Regions from separate parts of the Homo sapiens genome. Here region 1 is linked to region 2. The links are contacts of gene promoters, found by promoter capture Hi-C in blood cells and fetal thymus (Javierre and others, 2016). All regions are on one chromosome and are shown on one strand. The core of a region is centred on a gene start or on the middle of the fragment in contact, and the rest is flanking DNA. Distances in the headings are between cores, read along the strand shown.

What was found. Contacts are between HindIII fragments. The CHiCAGO score rates a contact against its expected background, and 5 or more counts as called.
Region 1: the fragment with the promoter of CDKL2 here is called in contact with a fragment that was not itself captured in region 2 in 3 of 17 cell types (fetal thymus, naive CD4 T cells and total CD4 T cells); the score reaches 7.9 in fetal thymus.

What each region holds. Positions count from the first base shown.
Region 1 is chr4:75,628,635-75,633,709 of GRCh38, reverse strand. CDKL2 (cyclin dependent kinase like 2) reads left to right here and starts at 3,182. Exons shown (of 14, transcript NM_001330724.2): 1 at 3,182-3,668. The HindIII fragment of the contact is 1,829 bases long and covers 1,864-3,692 here.
Region 2 is chr4:77,149,640-77,154,641 of GRCh38, reverse strand. It overlaps the pseudogene RNU6-1187P. Among named protein-coding and RNA genes, the nearest start is that of CCNG2, 5.1 kb to the left of the region's middle. RefSeq lists a silencer at 219-288 and an enhancer at 1,999-2,048. The HindIII fragment of the contact is 2,089 bases long and covers 475-2,563 here.

The DNA of each region.
Region 1 (5,075 bases), core at 1,933-4,432, 1.5 Mb after region 2:
GCCATCTCTCAAGCTGTCCTCTCTTGACATCTACCTCATGCACTCCCATACTGTTTTCTTTAGATTTTTAGAACATTTTCACTTTCTTCACTGATTAATGTCTTTCTCAGCCTCTTCCACTATAGTCCTACTTGGTAGTTCATGTTAATGAATTTTTCATACTGTGACCTCAAGTTTCTTTGAACTCAATGACATTTTCCACTCAACTTCAGCTACCCAAGGAACAGCCAAATACTCCACCCTTTAGAACTGATCATCCTGTGCCATTTCCAACATCTGGAATACACAAACTGCTTTCTCTGATAACTTTTTCCTCCTATATTGCTCCTTTAAACTTATTATTCATGCCTATGATGACTTCCAGACCCTCAGTGCCTCCGTTTTCAGTTTATTAGCTAACTGCTGTCAAAATTTATCTTCCTATTTAGCAGGAGCCCATGGCAAGCAATTTTAATGGTATTTTCTTCAGCATCTTTGATTCCTTTTTTTTTTCTCAGTGATCCTTGTTCTGAAATTCCTTAACTCCTTTGTTTAATCTTTTTGCATTACCAGTTCTCTAAAAGAGGCAGCTTATATATCATCTATTTTCTCCATTCTTTCCTTTGGGGTTGCCCAATTCTGGGCAACAGTGTCAGTTGGTTCACTGTAAATTCATGGTACCCAGGCTCAAGTGAGCACATTTTTACTATTTTGTGTTCCTTTTATATCAAAATGACTTCTTAACTATTCTAACGTATTTCTGCTCTCAAATCCTTAAGCCTCTATCTCACCATTACCTTTTTATGCAAAAATAAAGTTCTTTTACTGAGATGGCCTGGGCCCACAGTGTATGCCCTACACTTTTCTCAGTTTTTTCCATTTTCTCTAAACCTCTTCAAGCCTAACCCCTTCTCATATATTATTACCTACTCTTCAGTACCTCTCCTTGGTTTTTCATTAATTATTCATTTTCTTGCCCCTTTAAGGTCTCTCCCCACTCTTTTTCCCTATAAATATTTCCCTCTTTAAAAAGAAAAAATAGGCCGGGTGCGGTGGGTCACGCCTGTAATCCCAGCACTTTGGGAGGCTGAGGCGGGCGGATCAACTGAGGTCAGGAGTTCGAGACCAGTCTGACCAACATGGCGAAAACCTGCCTCTACTAAAAAAAGAAAAAAATTAGCCAGGCGTGGTGGTGGGGTCCTGTAATCCCAGCTACCTGGGAGGCTGAGACAGGAGAATCGCTTGAACCCAGGAAGCAGAGGTTGCAGTGAGCCAAGATCGTGCTGCTGCACTCCAGCCTGGGCAACAGAGTGAGACTCCGCCTCAGAAGAAAAGAAAGAAAAAATAGTAACACAATCCTGTTTCTACATAATACCTTCTCTATTAACAATCCTGTAGATGGCCAGAATGTGTAAGTCTTTAATAACCTCTGTCCTCTACAACTGGCTTTCAAACTCAGTTCTTACTGAAATTGTTTTTTTTTGGTTTGTTTGTTTTCTTTTTTTCAGTCTCCCAAGTAGCTGGGAGTACAGGCGTTCACAACCATGCCCAGCTAATTTTTGTATTGTTAGTAGAGACAGGGTTTCACCATGTTGGCCTGGCTGGTATCAAACTCCTGACCTCAGGTGATCTGCCCGCCTTGGCCTCCCAAAGTGCTAGGATTACAGGCATGAGCCACCGCATCTGGCTGAAATTGTTTCCTAAAGCATCACTTGTTCGCCAAATCCAGTATTTTCAGTCTTTATCCTTTGGTTCCCTGTGAGATATAAATAGATTATTGAAGCTTCTAGGCCTCTTGCATGAAGGGGCCTTAAAATGTTATACGGTTGAATATGATTATAAAGTTGCAAAAGTAAAATAGTTTTGCGCTCTTGTTCTTAAGCTTCAGGCCCAACAAAACTGAATCTACCCCCATATAAAAGAAGTTCATCAGATTCTCTTATAGCCTATAGAGGTACCAAATGGGACAGGGCTTCTCGCAACTTGGACACAGCTAAGGACAGAGCTAATTGCTACACTAAGAGTCACATCTTGAATTGACCAAATAATTCTATTCTTTCCATAACTAGGCCTCAGGTCTGGTTCTCAATATTACAGGTTCAGGAACTAGATTTTAAGCAGTCTGACCAAGGTAATTAACCACTGGGAGATTAATGCAAACTAACCAAACTCACAAAAGACTATAAAAAGAATGTCTATTTCTTAATGTACAAGAAGGAATCAATACCTTAACATTAATGATTAATACCTTAATATTGACTAGGGTATATGGTAGACATTTGTCTATCCAGGACACTCTATTCCCTAAATCAAAGTAGTTTCGAGACCAAAATGATCATGAACATTTAGTTATCATGATTGAAAGTGTTATTTTACTGGCCTTATGGCCTCCTCGCTGCCTCAGATTCTTTGAAAATGGGGTAAGCTCTGTTCCTGTGTGATTTAAGCCTGTGCATGATTCTGACCTACCAGTCTTGCTCAGTCGTGGATTGAGCTGCATTTTTGCATTTAAGGCAAGTTTTATCGCAAGCCCTAACTCCACCCCATTTGGCTGCCATACGCGGGTGTTGTGCGTGTCCTCCAGATCCCCAGCCATCCCAGCGCTTTCCCATTCCACTCATGCCCTCTCTTCCCCTTCCTCCATCTCAGTGTTTTCCCTCACTTTCAATGGCCAGACTGGCCTTCCCAAGGTCCCTCCTAACGTCAGGTCTGTCATCACCTACCTTCTTCCACCTTGCCTCGCCTACTAATCATCACCTCCTAAACTGTCACCGTTATCTCCTACCTGGCTCACACTGGCCCCACCGCCCAGAACAGAAAGGAAGCATGGAATCCCGGTCAGGCCGCGCCTACGCGACTCAGGGCGCCCGGCGCCCGCCCCTGCCCCAGCGGCGATGCTATGAGGGAAACCGTATCGCATTTTGCATAGTCTTCGCAGTCCTACATAACCGCCACCTTTACCCTTCGCGTGGGCATCACAATCGCCTCCTCCCGCTGGGGAAGGCAGAAAGGCGCCTCCTGACGAGAACCAAGGCGTGTGGGGACGCAGGGCCTCTGCGTGTCAGGGAGCAGAACCTGGGCCGAGCCCTAGGTGAAGGGGCGGGGTGGTTGGCCCTGAGCCAATCATGGCTCGTGACGACTCGGCTCGGCCAATCAGAAGAAGGGAGGCCTGGCGCTCTCGGGGCGGGTGAGAAACCGCCCCCCCTTGCAGCTCCGCGGCCAACGCCTTCGCCCAGGGGTAGTTGGAGCGGTGCAGGTTCCCAGGCTCCAGGTACTGGGCGCCTTACGAGCTGGGAGGTGGTGCCTCTCACCCAGCTAATTGCTCTCTAGCCCTTGGCCTTCACAGGTGTTGGTGCCTGCCGTGAACGCATTCTGACCTGGGCCGTATCTGTCTCCCAAGACTTTGTGCCTATGGTTGGGGACAGAGTGAGGTCGTTGCCTTGACGACGACAGCATGCGGCCCGTGGTCCTCCTAAGTGTGAGCTTGCGGCGGACCGAGGCCCACCTGCCTCCCTGCCTGCTTCGCCCTGGACTCGTGACTGCGTCCGCAGAAGAAATCACAACAGCGCTGGAATTGCTAGTTTGCTAGGCAGCATCTTTTGGACCTGCGAACCATATGCATTTCACCTCAAATTTGTTTCCAAGTTGAAAACCTTTGGGTCTTTCTATGCGAACGGATTGAAGAAACGGTAAGTATAGTACGTTTTAAAGCTTCTATTATCTCGTTCTTTGATCTATAAAAGATTTCAATCTTTTTTTTTTTTTTTTTTTTTTTTTTTTTTTTTTTTTTTTGAGACGGAGTTTCACTCTTGTTGCCCAGGCTGGAGTGCAATGGCATGGTCTCGGCTCACCGCAACCTCTGCCTCCTGGGTTCAAGCGATTATCCTGCCTCAGCCTCCCAAGTAGCTGGGATTACAGGCATCACCACCACGCCCGGCTAAGTTTGTATTTTTAGTAGAGACAGGGTTTCTCCATGTTGGTTAGGCTGGTCTCGAACTCGCAACCTCAGGTGATCCGCCCGCCTCGGCCTCCCAAAGTGTTGGGATTACAGGCGTGAGCCACCGCTCCCGGCCCTTTAATCTGTCTTAAACAAAATAAAAAATTAGCATTCTCCAAATATTTTTATCAAAATTGTTGCTTTTAGAACCATCCAGAAATAACACCTTGCCCATTGGCCAGGTTTCTTTTTCGTTTGTATTACCTTTCCGTTCAAGAGTAGAAGGCATGAGAAGTTATAGTTTATGAGTAACTGTTTCAGGAAACAGGAGGCTTTGTAGGCTGTGATACTTTTAAAGTATTTGTGGACAGTGTCACTTGAAAAAGCAGGTGTGTTCAATGTGGTGTGTCCAGATATGCAATTGGTTGGGAGAATAAACTTGAAGCAGTCAACTTGCATTAATGTTAGCTTGGGATATGCTTCAGAACACCTCAGACATGCTTAAAGTCATTTTTTTTGGTTCACTTTGTGCTTTCAAATATTGAGGACATCAATTACAAAATGTTTTAAAATAATCCAGGTTATAGATTCAAGCTATTTTTGTCATTGGTATGATAAACCTAAAGCCTAGTGCTTAATAAAACATACTCTCTTAATGGAAGAGAAAAAAATTAAGAAGGGATAGAATTATATGGAGATTTTTTTTTTCAAATACAAACAGTTTATTAAAAAATAGTTAATGGAAGTGGAATAGAAGGTAAAATGTCAAATGCATGGAAAGTTAGTGTCTGGGACACTGCTCTGTAAAAAGTTTGTAGTAGAATCTACTATGAAAACTGGTAGTAAAATAATAATTTAAGTCGATGTTCATTGGTATTGTTTTCATTTCCCACCCCTCAAGATCAATCTTCTGGTTCTCCACATATAGCTACATTAAAAATATATATATTATAAAATCTCAAACTATTATATGTCAAGTGTGGAAAACGTATTGTATACATTGGATTAGCATAGTTTGCTAGAACAAAGAGAATATTTGTTTTGTCTTTGCATCACTGTTCCAATAGAGAAATAGGAAAAACAGTTCACGATCTGAGTAAATTTTAGATTGCCGTAAGTATACAATTAATACAACAGGCAAGAATTATTTCTTGTTAAA
Region 2 (5,002 bases), core at 270-2,769:
TAATATATCTTTTAAAAAAAAATTCTCCTCATTCTATTTGTCCTTATCACATTGGCTTACCTTGCCGGAGCTGAAAGTGTTATTTATGAAAAAGACATTATTCCCCTTAGGCTAATCAGGCTTTACCCATTAGCCTTTCCTGAGCTTTCTGGAAGGCAAATTTCCTGTATCATGCACACATACAAAATAAGGAAATCAGAAACTTGGCAGCCCCCAAGAACTTCCAGACAATTTAAGATACTTGGTTTTCTACAGCATGTGGTAGGGGTGCAGTGGGGTTGGGTGATACTGTCACCAATAACCCCATGAAAGCCTGATGTGCAGCCCATTGTCCTCAGTGACATGTGAGACTGAAACTAAAAGGTGCTCACAGAATGGGTAATAAGCAGGGAGTGCCCACACAGAAACACTGACTACATTCAGTGAATCCCTGACTCCTGACAAGTGTGCTGCAAACCTGCTCACACTTAAGCTTCTACCTTGAAAATAGGGCACTCTCATGGGACAGTTGCAGTGCTTCCCTAAATGACTTAGACTTCCCTGAACTTCATAAGGCATCAAAATTGCTACAATTTTCCAAATATCATCTTTCTCCTCAAAGATATGGTTTTTGACAATAAATCCTAGCTTTTTATTCAATCGAAATTTAGTGAATACACACTGAGTGCCAGGCATGCTACTAGGCACCAGGAATACAAAAATACATAAATAAAACAAGGCCCCAGCATATACCCTGGTATGTCTGAGGTGTAGGGCAAAAGCACTGGCCATGGATCAAACTGGCTTTGTGTCTCAGCTTTCCTACTCATTAGAAATGGTGCCTTGAATACCCTGAATAATTCCCATGGTCTTGAGCCTCAGCTTTCTAAACTGAGGAAAACAAAAAGCCAGAGGTAGTTGTGTCTGCTTCATATGTGATGACTGAATACAAACATTTGTGAAAGCAACTAGCTATATATTTCTAGGCTGCACCATGTTGTGACTTCATGAAGGGAAAGGAAGGGATCATCCCTAACCTCATCAAAGAAGTCTGGTGGAAAGCAGCCCTGAAAGGAAAGAACCTGAGGATAAGGATACGTAAAGCTGACATGAGGCCATACTCCCCCTCCCCGTCTACTCACTATTGCTGGGTCCCTGCCTGGGCTGTTTTCTGTCATTAGGCTGAGCACAGTGGTTCATACCTGGAATCCCGGCACTTTGGGAGGCTGAGGTGGGAGGATCACTTGAGCCCAGGAGTTCAAGACCAGCCTGGGCAACATAGCGAGACTTCATCTCTACAAAAAATTTTAAAAATTATCTGGGCGTGGTGGCATGCACCCGTAGTCCCAGCTACATGTGAGCCTGAGACAAGAAGATTGCTTGAGCCTGGGAGGTCTATGCTACAGTGAGCCATGATCATGTCACTGCACTCTGGCCTGGGCAACAGAGCAAAACCCTGTCTCAAAAAAAAAAAAAAAAGTGGTTTGCAGCCCCAAACTTCCTGCTTAGATAAGTCTTGCTTCACAGAACCTGCAATGGAGACAGGAATGCCTCTCTGAGGAAGAGAAACAGGGAAGGTATAGCATAGTAGCATAGGGTGCTATCTTGAAGTAATGCAGATTTTTCAACCAAGAGCTCATTTTTAAATCAGAACCTGGAAGAATGAGATGATTTATATAGCAGATGATTAATCTCTGTCTTCAAGCAATCAGCAGAATAAGTCAGTGAAACATCTCATATATTCTCCTTTCTGATTTTCCCACAAACAAGACCATCTCAAATTTGAAATCAACATTTTACAATCCATTTACTATATATTTTGTTGCTTTTGTTGTTAATGCTAGAAGCATGCCCTGTTTTTTTGGAAGAGTGTTTATGCAAGGGTTGGCCATATTCATAAACATTCATAGTGTTTATCTACGTAGGGTTGGCTTTGGAATTGTGGAAATTATCCACACTGTAGACACCATCTGAATGACTACAGCAAGAGGACCAGTTTTTCCAGCCAGCCACTTTAGTCCCTCCCAGTTCTACTAGCCTGCAAGAGAGTAGCCTTGTAGGAACTATCTCTGCAACCTGAGAACTTGAGAACTAAATGCTCGGTTGACTCTGAAGCCCGACTCAGTACTTTGTTATCCAGTGCTCTCTCTTTTACACGAATAATCAACTGAAATAAATGAAGTAGCTTTGACATAATGTGAAAAGCCTGGCAAAGGAGAGTGAACTGAGAATTCGGCAATGCCTGAAATCAGAACTAATCATCTCAAAATCATCTTAAAATATATTTTAAGTGGCTCAGGCTACATTCTGGTACATTGTACATGATTCTTTATGTAACACATTTTTCTTTCATGGTTTGTTTCAAGAACCATGACCTAACTCAGAGATTTCCTGTCTTTCCTTGACATCACAGTGCTATATGAAGTTGACACTGTCAGCAAAGAGTAACTTAGGATACATCTGTTGAATGTATCATCTTATTTCCAAAAGAAGTTTTACTGTCTGTGAGAGTCATGATCTCTTTTTTTATCTCAAATGAAAAGGCAATTGATGTTTAAAGTGATATGGATAAGTGGTATAAGCTTAAAATTTGCTTCTGTTAACATTTTAAAGTGTTTTCAAAATGAAATTTTTTTTTTAACTTTAAAAAGAAAGACTGCTGTTGAAACCCTGTCTCTACTAAAAATACAAAAATTAGCTGGGTGTGGTGGCACACACCTGTAGTCCCAGCTACTTGGGAGGCTGAGACAGGAGAATCACTTGAACCTGGGAAGTGGAGGTTGCAGTGAGCCAAGATCACGCCACTGCACTCCAGCCTGGTGACAGAGCGAGACTCCGTCTCAGAAAAAAAGAAAGACTGCTTTATATCAAAGATCCTCAGGTCTGTTTAATTACGTATATTTTTATGTTTTCAACCACATTCTGAATAAGAAATTGTGGCTACATGCAGAAGTAGAACCAGATTTAAGGTAGTACATTTGAAGCTTTACTATTTGGAGGGGCTCTCTCTAGGAAAAAAAGAATTTACAAATACAAAATTAGATATGAAAGTGAATACTTATTTAAAACGAGACAATTCAAGACAAAGTGTAAATTTTAAACAGTTGTTACATACTGACTGCTTCGGCTATCTACTGCTGTACAATGAATCACCCAAAACTTAGTGACTCAAAACAACAATAATTTTATTATCATCACCCACAGGTCTGGGGCGTTGCTTGAACTCAGCTGGGCAGCCCTTGCTCAGGGTTTCTTATGAAGTTGTAATCAGATGGTAACTGCGGCTGGCATCATCTTGCTGCCACTCACGTGTCTGGAGTTGTTGCTGACTGTGGGCTGGGACCTCTGCTGAGGCTGGTGGCTGGAACATTTATATGTGACCACTCCACGTGGTCTTTCCATTTCCTCATGGCATGGTGGCAGGGCCTGAAGAAAATCAGGTGAACACTGTGTCTCCTTTTACAAACCAGCCTTGGCAGTCAGATAGCATCTATATTAATTTCACACTGATGGTCTAGGAAATTACCACAAATTTAGGGATTTAAAACAACAAATGTTTATCATATTACAGTTCTGGAGGTCAGAAGTTCAAAATGGGTCTCACTGGGCTAAAATCAAGGTGTCAGCAGGGCTGCAGTCCTTCTGAAGGCTCTAGAGAGTATTCATTTTCTTGCCTTTTCCACCATCTAGAGGCCACCTGCGTTCCTTGGCTTGTGGCTCTTCCTCCATCTTTAAAGCCGGCATCATGGCATCTCCAGATCTCTCTTGACTCTGACTCTTCTGCCTCCCACTTCCAGCTATAAGGACCTTAGTGATTACATTGGGCCCACCTGAATAGTCCAGTATAGTCTCACCATCTCAACGTCAGCTGGTGCTTGCTTCAGCATCACATATATTAAAATTGTTTTTTTGTTGTTTTTTTTGTGTGTGGGGGGGGTTGTTTGTTGTTTGTTTGTTTGTTTTGAGATGGAGTCTTACTCTGTCACCCAGGCTGGAGTGCAGTGGCACGATCTCGGCTCACTGCAACCTCTGCCTCCTGGGTTCAAGGGATTCTCCTGCCTCAGCCTCCCAAGTAGCTGGGATTATAGGTGTGCACCACCACGCCCAGCTAATTTTTGTATTTTTGGCAGAGACAGGGTTTTGCCCTCTTGGCCAGGCTGGTCTTGAACTCCTGACTTCAGGTGATCTGCCCGCTTCAGCCTCCCAAAGTACTGAGATTACAGGCGTGAGCCACCACGCCTGGCCACATATATTAAAATTGGAATGTTACAGAGAAGATTAGCATGGCCCCCATGCAAGGATGACAGGCAAATTTATGAAGTGTTCCGTATTTTTAAGAAAAAGAAAAGTTTGGGCATGGTGGCTCATGTCTGTAATCCCTGCACTTTGGGAGGCCGAGATGGGAGGATTGCCTGAGCCCAGGGCTTCTAGACCAGCCTGGGCAACATGGCAAGACGTTTTCTCTACAAAAATTTTAAAAATTAGCCAAGCATGGTGGCATGCACTTGTAGTCTCAGCTTGGGAGGCTGAGGTGGGAGTATCACTTGAGTCCAGGTCAAGGTTGCAGTGAGCCATGTTCACACCACTGCACTCTAGGCTGGGTGACAGAGAAAGACCCTGTCTCAAAAAAAAAGAAAAGAAAAGAAAAGAAAAGAAAAAAAAGGTCAGCAGATTTGCAACCTTAATTCCATCTTGCTATATTACATAACATATTCACAGCTGGTGAGGAATAGGATGTGGACATTTTTGAGGGACCTTTATTCTGTCAACTACAACATCCTTTCAGCCACAGTCACATCTACTCAGGTTCAAAGACAGGGAACGTAGATTCCACTTCTCAATGAGGGATGTGTCAATCACCTTATAACAAGAGCATGTGGGATAGGAGATACTGTGATGACTGTCTCTGGAAAATAGTCTTTTACATTCACAAACATAAAAAATCTGGAAAATCCCATAATATTTTTTATTAATAAACTGCCTGACATATGGCTGTACAACTTTTTACCAATATTTTTGGCTG